3 separate regions of the Homo sapiens genome follow, and all the other regions are linked to region 3. Evidence: promoter capture Hi-C in 16 types of primary human blood cells and fetal thymus (Javierre and others, 2016). All regions are on one chromosome and are shown on one strand. The core of a region is centred on a gene start or on the middle of the fragment in contact, and the rest is flanking DNA. Distances in the headings are between cores, read along the strand shown.

Region 1 (3,323 bases), core at 499-2,998, 120 kb before region 3:
GTGGTACAAGTGAGAATGGAACATACCGCCATCCCTGATCTGGTCCCCCTAGAGCTACTAAAAGGGGACAGCCAGACTGTGTGGAGTCCCTTCTTTCTGAGCCGGGGATATCCCCAGTCCTCATGAAGGGGGCACATCTTGGGCCATATGGATCCTGGAACTCCTCCCTCTGTTGACCTGAGGCCCCACTTCTCAGACCACAGCTCTGTCCTGTCACCTCAAAGATGCAGGAAATATGGGCCATATGTGGCCACCGTGCCCTGGACCTCTCAGGGCCGAGGTCCACACTGATCTGGATTCCAAGGTCCCCTGAGTCCTCCCTCCTCTTCCTCCGCGTAAGCCTTGCAGGCCTGGGTCCCACCCCCATGCTAATCTGAGTCCCCATCATTCTGATTCTTGAGGCCAGAAGTGGCAGCCTCAGTCTCAGACAGGGGTGCGGTGTCCTAGGGTGCTGGGTCCTCTGAGGCCTCCCTCATCTCGCAGTAGGGCCCTCCCTCTGCTCCCCTGAGGCCCTGTTCAAGCCCCTTCCCTCCATCAGCCCTGGATGGGGACGTCAAGATCCGAGTGCCTGGCCGCCATTCCCGTGGCTTCCGTGGGTTGACAGCAGGGATTCTGACAAGATGAGGTTGGGGGTAGGGGGTAGGTATGGGAATGTGAGTGGGGTGGCGGTGGAGATGAGGAGACAGGTGTGGGTGGGGAACCCTCAGTTCCCTCCCAGGGTCCTGACCCTAATGCCGGGCGGATGCCTGGACCTTGATGCCTGGGCCCTGCCCTCTCCTGACCAACCCTGCCCCGGTCACATAAGCTATGACTACAGATTGCCCTGTGGGTTAAGTGGCAGTGGGACGGGACGGGGGGTGGTCCAGCTGAGACATCTGTCCTGGCCGGGTGGTCCAGGGCTGGCAGCAGGGGTGGTACTGGATCATTTTGGGGCCATCTACCTGGGGTGTGTGCCTCCTCAGTCCTCCCTCAGCATCTCACCTTGCCTCCTCACAGAGCCTAAAACCACTCCCCTCAGTGGATCTCAAGCCGCCCCTCAGAACCATTAAATGAACCTGGCTTCTCTCAGATCTGTGAGGTTCAAGTCAGTGGTTTCACATCGGGCCATCCAGGGCTTCCCTGGGTTGAGAGCAGGGGCAAACCGGATTCTGCCAGAATGGGGGAGGCGATGGGAGTGGGGCACATGAGAGAGATGAGGGTGGGGTTGGGGGCAGTGAGGGTGAGGTGGCAGAAGGGTTGGGGCTGGTGCTGGGGCTGGAGGGTGGTGGTCAGGTGACGGAGTAGGAGTAGGGATGGGGGTGGAGGTGTAGCTGAGGAGATGGGGGTTGGGTGGGGAATGGGAATGCGAATGGGGTGGGAGTGGGGATTGGAGTGCAGTCTTGGGGGCCCACAGCCCTCCCTCTTGGGTGCTGATCTTGATGCCTGGCAGAGCCTGTGCCCTGCCCTCTCCTAACCAGTCCTGCCCTGGTCACAGCAACCTCTGATTCCAGAGCTTGGGGAGAAGAACCTGGTGTCTCTCAAGGCTTTTGGAGCAGGGGTCTGGGGGCAGCCCAGGCTGAGACGTCTTCCCGCGGGTGGGCCAGGGCTGGCAGCAAGGGCGGCGCTGGAATATTTGGGGCTCTCTATTTGGAGTGGCGGGGTCCTCAGTCCTCCCTCAGCCTCTCACCTTGCCTCCTCACAGAGCCTGGGTCAGGTTCCTTCGGCCGAACTCTACGCCGTCCCTCAGAATGGAAACCTCGCTTCTCTCTGCCCCACAATGCGCAAGTCAGTGGCGTCACATCCGGGCACCCGGATGTTTCCTGGCGGGAACCGGATCCTGCCTGGGTGGGGGTGGGAGTGGGCGTGGGGGTGGGGGTGGGGGTGAGGGTGGAATGGCTGGGCGGATGGGCATCAGGGTTGAGGGATGGGGTGGGGGATGTGGGGTGGGGGTTGGAATGACAATGAAGAGGGGGTTGGGTCACGGGAGTGAGCATTGGAGTGGGGGTTGGGTCACGGGAGTGGGGTCTTAGGGACCCTCAGCCCTCCTTGAGAATCCTGAGCATGATGTCTGGCAGAGCCTGGACGCTGCCCTCTCCTAAGCAGCCCTTCCCTGATCACACGAGCTCTGACTTCAGAGTCCCCAGTGGTTTAAGCAGCAAGGGGGCTGGGGGTGGCCCAGCCTGAGAAGTCCACCACCAGATGGTCCAGGACTGGCATGAAGGGATTATTTGGGGTCCTCTATCTGGGGTAAGTGGGTCCTCAGTCCTCCCTCAGCATGTCACCTTGCCTCCTTACAGAGCCTGGGCCCGCTTCCCTCCACCGATCTCAAGCCGCCCCTCAGACCGAAAACCTCGCTTCTCTCTAACCACTAATGCTCAAGTCAGTGGCGTCACATCTGGGCACCTGGGCTTCCCTGGGTTGAGAGCAGGGGTGGAACCGGATTCTGCCTGGCTTGGGCTGGGGGTGAGCGTGAAGATGTTTGGATGGGTGGCGTAAAGGGAGGGATTGGGGGTGGTAGGGGGAGGGATGCCAGTGGTGCCCCGGGGCTTAAGTCGTCGTGTTGGTGGTAGTGGGGTTGGGCGTGGGGTTGGGGGACCCTCGGTCACCCCTCAGGGTCCTGACTTTCATGCCTGGCAGAATCTGGACACCCATATTCTCTGCCGATTGTGTCTGCTTCTCTCCCACCAAGTCTCTGGCCCCCAGTCCCATGAGGTGGCAATGGGAGGGGGGGTGTGGTCGTGGTAACATTGCCAGGGTCTTCCAGGGCTGACAGGAGGGGCTGAGCTGCATTCTGTGGCCCATCTACGTCGGGAGAGTGGACCCTCTGTCCCCACTCAGGAAGGTCCTCCTCCCGGCTCCTGGCACTTTGTTGAAGTCATGGGCGGGAGATGCTGTTTCTGCCATCTCTGAGCATTTGCCCAGCTGCACCCATTGCAGAGAATGGCTGCAGGTCCCAGGCCAGGTGCTCCCTGCAGAGTGGCAGCTCCCGCGATTGTAGTGACCTCTGGGAGAAGACGCACACCTTCCCACGGGGGCTTCTCTCCAGCCAGAGCTACACTTGGCAAACCTTTTGTCCTCAAAGTAATATGTTTTACTCCCAGGCACGGTGGTTCACGCCTGTAATCCCAACAGTTTGAGAGGCCGAGGCGGGCAGATCACTTGAGGTCAGGGGTTCAAGACCAGCCTGGCCAACATGGTGAAACCCCGTCTCTACACAAAATACAAAAATTAGCTGGGTGTGGTAGTGCTCAGGAGGCTGAGGCGTGAGAATCGCTTGCACCTGGAGGCGGAGTTTGCAGTGAGGCGAGATCGTGCCATTGAACTCTAGCGTGGGCCTCGCGACA
Region 2 (3,033 bases), core at 103-2,602, 110 kb before region 3:
TTAGATCCCACAGGGTATGCCCCATGGTGATGAAAATAAAATGAACTTGTTGTAAAATGATGTGTGGGTCTGCTCCTTCTCGGATGGTGGGAAGAGAGGAAGGAGGGAAGACGTGGTGTGTGGGAAGGGAGGAAGGTGGGTGTTGCGGGGTTGGGGTCAGATGGACAAGTCCTCAGTTAACCAGACATGGAGGATGAGGATTAGGTCAGGATTGAGCACTGGAGACAAATTTCCCCTTAACAGGATGACTTGGCTTCTTGTAAGGTTTCCGCCTTTATGGGATCTTGATGGTGCTTAAATCAAGTACCAAGAACTGGATTCTACCTACTTGTGATGGATAATATTAAGTGTCAACTTGATTGGATTGAAGGATGCAAAGTGTGGTTTCTAGATGTGTCTGCGAGGGTGTTGCTAGAGGAGATTAACATTTGAGCCAGTGGACTGTGAGAGGCAGACCAACCCTTAATCTGGGTGGGCACCATCCCCTTGCCTGCCAACACAGCTAGACAAAAGCAGGCAGAAGAAGGTGGAATGAGCAGACTTGCTGCGTCTTCTGGCCTTCATCTTTCCCCATGCTGGATGCTTCCTGCTCTCCAACATTAGACTCCAACTGCTTTGGCTTTTGGACTCTTGGTCTTATGCTAGTGGTTTTCCTGGGGCTCTCGGGCCTTCCACCACAGACTGAAGGCTGCACTGTTGGCTTCCCTACTTTTGAGGTTTTGAGGTTTTGGGACTTGGACTGATCCACTACTGGCTTCCTTGCTCCTCAACTTGCAGACAGCTTATGGTGGGACTTTATGTTGTCATCCTGTGAGTCAATTATCCTTAATAAATTCCCTTTCTCATATATATATATATATATATAAAATATCTATACATTCATATATATACATATATCTATGAAATCTATAGATATATGAAATGTATACACACACACACACACACACACACACATTTATCTTACTAGTTCTGTCCCTCTAGAGAACTCTAATACACTACTTATGTTTCACTGTCACAAAACCTTTTGGTTCATATAAACTGGTGGAAGAATCCTTTGCATCATCCTTCCTTACAGAGTCCCCTCCCTACAATCTAATATAATTAAGAAAAAAATTCAAAGTTGATACAAATCTATTCAAAGTAAAGCCAAAACTATCTACTTAAAAACTGCTTTATTTTTGCAACTGAGAAGACTGGATGTACATTTCCCATTTCCATACATTAGAAACACATAGGTCTTTTCTACTATGCATATATATGTATATATGTGTGTATATATATATGTGTGTGTGTGTGTGTGTGTGTGTGCCTGTGTGTGTTTTGTGTACCATCATTTGTATTGGAAGGTAAGGTGTTATTGTTGAAGCGTGCTTCACAGGCAAACAGAGAAAGGAAACTATCATTTTAAGAAGAATAAAGTACAAAATTTTCACAATTCAGTTTCCAGTTTTCAGTAAGTATTATGACAGAGAAATTCATACCTTTTAGCTTCATAATGAATAACATTTTTTACCTTTATGTGATTATGGAAATGTGAATTTCCATACAATAAGGGTTTGTGATGGAAAGCACTGATTCTATAAGCATTTTCCACTTGTTACATAGATTGTTATTATAGCTTTAAAGGTGTTAAGATTAATGGTGGCTTTGAAGAAATGGGAGCATCATTTGAGAAACTATAAATGAGTTCTGTTGCATCCCTTTCCTAGGTGACGTCAGGGCTCCACTTCATTAGCTAAGGAAGGCATTTCAGGGCTTTGCATGTGTACGTTGTAGCTGCCTCCTATGAAATCCTGAAAAATCTGGGACACTGTACAACAGACACAGGGCATTGTCCCACATCCTGAACTCCAACAATGTATTCTAGTATCTTCTATGTCTTTTGTAGTTCTTATATGGATCTACCATCGAAGAATGAGCATGCTGGATGTAAATCAAAGCCTCTTGATTTGCAAATGCTCCATCAACCCTGAACAATAATATTTGCATTTATGGGTGGGAAGCTGGTCAGAAGGAAAACATCCTGCTGTCTTTTTAGGAAATCACGTTGGACATGGTCGTATAGCTCTTTCCAAAGAGAAATTCGTTTTTTCCATAATAGATTAAAAACCGAAATAAACCATGTCTTGTCAGTGGTCACTTTTTGGATCAGTGTACATCATTGCACTGAGCAATTTTGCACAGTGTGTTTCAAAATTACATTCAAGAACTGATTTGCTTACTGGCACCTTATTTTGATGCCATGACATTTCCATTAAAATCTCTATGTCAAATCAGTCTATGATAACTCTTTTGGCATTCAAAAAAATTATCCATGGCTCTTAAACCATGTTTCTTTCATCATTTTACGGCCGTTGGAGCTTCAACTACTATTTGCTTGGGAACCCATCTTAACTAGCTCTTGCATTCGGGCTTCCTGTTTTATTGTGATGATTGGCAGACCCATTTCAGGCATGTTCAGCTTTGGAAAGGAATTACGATTTTGAACTTATACAAGCAAAAAATGTAACTGAGTTTATTTTCACAAACTGCTTTAATTTGTTAACAACAAGTCACTAAAACCAGAAATCAATCGTTTAAATTACCTTTTAATTTGTTGGAGCTTTCGTAAATGCTATGCTTTCATTTAAGTCTTTATTTATTCTACATGTTATATACATAGTTAAATTAGTTGATCAGAGTTTAAATATTTTCTCTCCTTCTCCAAGGACCCACAAGCTCAGGCTTAAAATAAAGAGTGGAATGAGAAAAGTAAAGGCCCGAAATATTATACCACCAAAGCTGTAGAGGACCTTTATAATAAAATAATGGATGTCAAAGCTTTCTGACCTTTTTAGGCAAATCTTCCTGTGTCCCTAAAGAAAAAACCCCCTTGCCAACAGCCACCAACAACAGGTAATCATGTGACTCTCAGCTGTGGTAGACAATTGCTGAAAAAATATGAAAACACCTTGGGCATATTAAGGAGCTAAGCATGAGATGATATATACATATGTGCATGTCTTTCTCATTAGACCCCTGGAAATAAAACAT
Region 3 (2,878 bases), core at 1-2,500:
CCCGGAGCCCACTGACCACCTGGAGAGCAGGGCCCCGTAAGCATTCCATCAGCCTCCGCCTCTTTTCCCCCTCGGGCACCTGCCACATCTGTAGCATCTCAGTGGTGTGCTCAAGCCAGGCATCAAAGGCCAGTGCACCTGGGATGGATATGGTGTTCCCAGAAAACACTCTTAGTTCTCGGTACAACATTTGTTCTAGCAGAGGCTGCACTGCTGCCCCCAGAGTCTGGGCCCAGGTCCAGAACTCTGGTGATATAGTCACTCTTGGAGCCGAACAATTGGTGTCCGACCCGAGGACTCGGTTCATATCTGACACGGTCCGCCTCTCCTCCTCTAAGAAGCGGTTCAGTCTGTTGAGAAATTCCCCATCTGAGTTACGGGGTTTTACAATCACTTCCCAGGGCCCCCCCTTTCCTGGTATTTCCCTTGGGAGCAAAGCATAGTCGATATCTTGTGCCAGCTCCAGTAGAATCGCCTGGGCGTTCTCCTCCCTCCTAAACATCCTGCCAATCACCCTGTATCTGCCCAGGTGCCTGCAAGCCTCCTGGAGTGTCTCCTCAAACTCATCCTCGCCACAGTCCTCGGGGATCCCCAGGATGAGCATGCACCTCCGGGTGTTCAGGTGTTCCCCCCGACACCAGTCCTGTAACAAGGTCAACGGCATGTCCTCGAATCTCTGCGGATACTAATTTGGGGGGAGTGATCAGGGCGTGAGGCACATATCTGGATCAACTCCTAGGGTGATCGCAGAAGGCCCAGGTCTCCACAGCCTGTGAATGCGAGCAGGGCGAGAGCGAGGTTAATGCCCACCTCTCCGCACGCCCACATCCACGCCCACCCCCACCCCCACCCCCAGCCGCCCTCCTCCCCGGGCGGCGCCTCTGCAGCCAGGCCCCGCCCCTGCCCAGCCCCCCACCCCCACCCCCCGTGGGGTCTCTGCGGGCCTCAGCCCCCTCCCCGCGCTGCCCCAGGACCCTGGACCCCTGCCCTGCAGGCTGCTTCAGTTCTGATAGGGCGGACAGGCGAGGGGCGGCGGAGTCTCCCGGGGCCCAGCGTCTCCCTCCCCAGGTGGGTCTGTTACCTTCTCCCAGGGCAAGGTCCCTTCTGGTCGGGGTCCCCAGAGGGCTCTCCGGGGGCTATGCGCGGCGGCGGCGGCGGCGGCGGACGGGGGTCGGGCACCCCTGGCTCCCAGCGCGGACGTTCGCTCAGACTGTGGCTCTCCCTCGCTCGCGCAGCACGTGGGCCAGTGCGCCGGCGCCTGCTCGCCGCGGCTCTCTGCAGTGCGGACACGGGGCGGGGGCGCGGCGGCGGTGCAGCGCGGACCCCTCCGCGTCGTCCGGGAGACCGCAGGGCCATTGGCGCGGACGGGTCACGAGGTCGGGCTCTCGCCGCCGCCCCTGGGGGCCCCAGGTCCCCGGGTGACGTCACCTGCTCCTCTCCCCTAGCCCCCCCGCCACGGGGGCCCCCGGGCCCCCGGGCACACAAGCGCCCGCCCACCCCCATCCCCACTGCGGTGGCCAAAGGTCTGTGGCGGCCAGTCCCCGTGCCTTTGGCTCTCACCACAGCGGTTCCTGGTCCCGGCTCCTGCCCCTCCCGCACGTGCCACGGAGGTGCCAGCGGGGCGAGGGGTCTGCACCCCGGCGTGCCCACCAGAGGGCCAGGGAGTGGTCTGAGGTGCGCCAGGCAGCTCTGCATTATGGCCAGGGTCAGGGAGCCGGGTTCTGGGGCCTGTTCACCTGCTCTTGTCCTCCCCCTCCCCGTCCAGGACTGGTCCTCTGGCTGGCGAGGCCAGGGGCACCTGGTGCGGGTGCCATTCCGTGCAGGAGATGCCCCAGGCACTCATGCAGGTCACGCACACCACCCCAAGGAGGGTCAGCCATCTCCCCGCTGTCCATCCCGCTGCTGGGACCTGAGGCCCTCCGGCCAAAGCGCTTCGCTGCCCAGGTGCCAGTGGACAGGTTTACCGGGACCTTTCCGGTTTTGTGCGCTGCAAATCTAGTGACTTGGGAAACCACTTCCAGGACTTGGAGCCCAATCCCTTGGGCCTGCCCTTCCTTGGCAGCCGTGCGCCGTGGGTTCTATTGTATCCGTTTGATCCCAGGGCAGCAGCCAAATGAAGAAGGGAGTGACTGTCCCTCAGGCAGTGGGCCCAGGTGTTCTGTGGGTCCTGCCTGCTCTGCCAGCCGCATGCTCAACTCCTATTCACACAGCTTCAGCTCCTCTCCAAACACAACGAAAAGGGGCTTGTGGTTGATTTTCAGGCCAGGTTCACCCATCCAGCCAAGTCTGGGAGGCCACCTTGCAGTGAGTGGGGCACAAAACTGTCCACTGACTTCCTGCCCCACCCTGAGTTCTGCTCGTCAGCCTGGCACTTGTCAGGGACCAAGAAGAAATGGCCCCAAGGGCTTTTTCCTGGTCAGACAGAATTCCTGAAACATCTTTACAGGAGTTATTTCATTTGCTCCTCACCAGAACTCTGAAGCAGGTATTAACATTATCCTGATTTGACTCATGAGGCTCAGAGAGATTAAGAGACATTTTCAAGGTCACACACCGTATTGAAGGTAGAATTGAGACTGGATTCTAAATTAGTGCCCATCAGTCTTTGGGTAGAATTGGGACTATTTCTCCCCTGGTTGCTTCATGCCTATTAGAATTTATTTCTCTCATTTTTGTCCATTCACAGTCCCTTGCTTTGTCACTCCAAGGGCTCAACCAGCTTCAAACTGAACCTTCATCTGCCCAACTTGCAGGGGTGGAAACAGAGGTTCAGAGAAGGGACACTACTGGCCCAAGGTCACACAGTGAGTAAATGACAAAGCTTGAGATGTCAAGGGGAGATGCCAAGTATTCATGCCAAGGCAGAGGGGCGTGTCTG

What was found. Contacts are between HindIII fragments. The CHiCAGO score rates a contact against its expected background, and 5 or more counts as called.
Region 1: a contact is called between the fragment with the promoter of MAGEA1 here and the fragment with the promoter of PNMA3 in region 3, in 16 of 17 cell types (M1 macrophages, M0 macrophages, non-activated CD4 T cells and 13 more). The highest score is 16.2, in M1 macrophages.
Region 2: a fragment that was not itself captured here is called in contact with the fragment with the promoter of PNMA3 in region 3 in 8 of 17 cell types (M2 macrophages, non-activated CD4 T cells, naive B cells and 5 more); the score reaches 9.6 in M2 macrophages.

The regions. Positions count from the first base shown.
Region 1 is chrX:153,177,709-153,181,031 of GRCh38, reverse strand. It overlaps MAGEA1 (MAGE family member A1), which reads right to left and starts at 1,748. Exons shown (of 3, transcript NM_004988.5): 1 at 1,667-1,748. The HindIII fragment of the contact is 9,739 bases long and covers 1-3,323 here.
Region 2 is chrX:153,161,189-153,164,221 of GRCh38, reverse strand. No RefSeq gene overlaps it. Among named protein-coding and RNA genes, the nearest start is that of MAGEA1, 17 kb to the left of the region's middle. The HindIII fragment of the contact is 2,933 bases long and covers 1-2,818 here.
Region 3 is chrX:153,054,842-153,057,719 of GRCh38, reverse strand. It overlaps PNMA3 (PNMA family member 3), which reads right to left and starts at 1,250. Exons shown (of 2, transcript NM_013364.6): 1 at 1,082-1,250; 2 at 1-770. The coding sequence starts at 664. The HindIII fragment of the contact is 3,087 bases long and covers 1-2,823 here.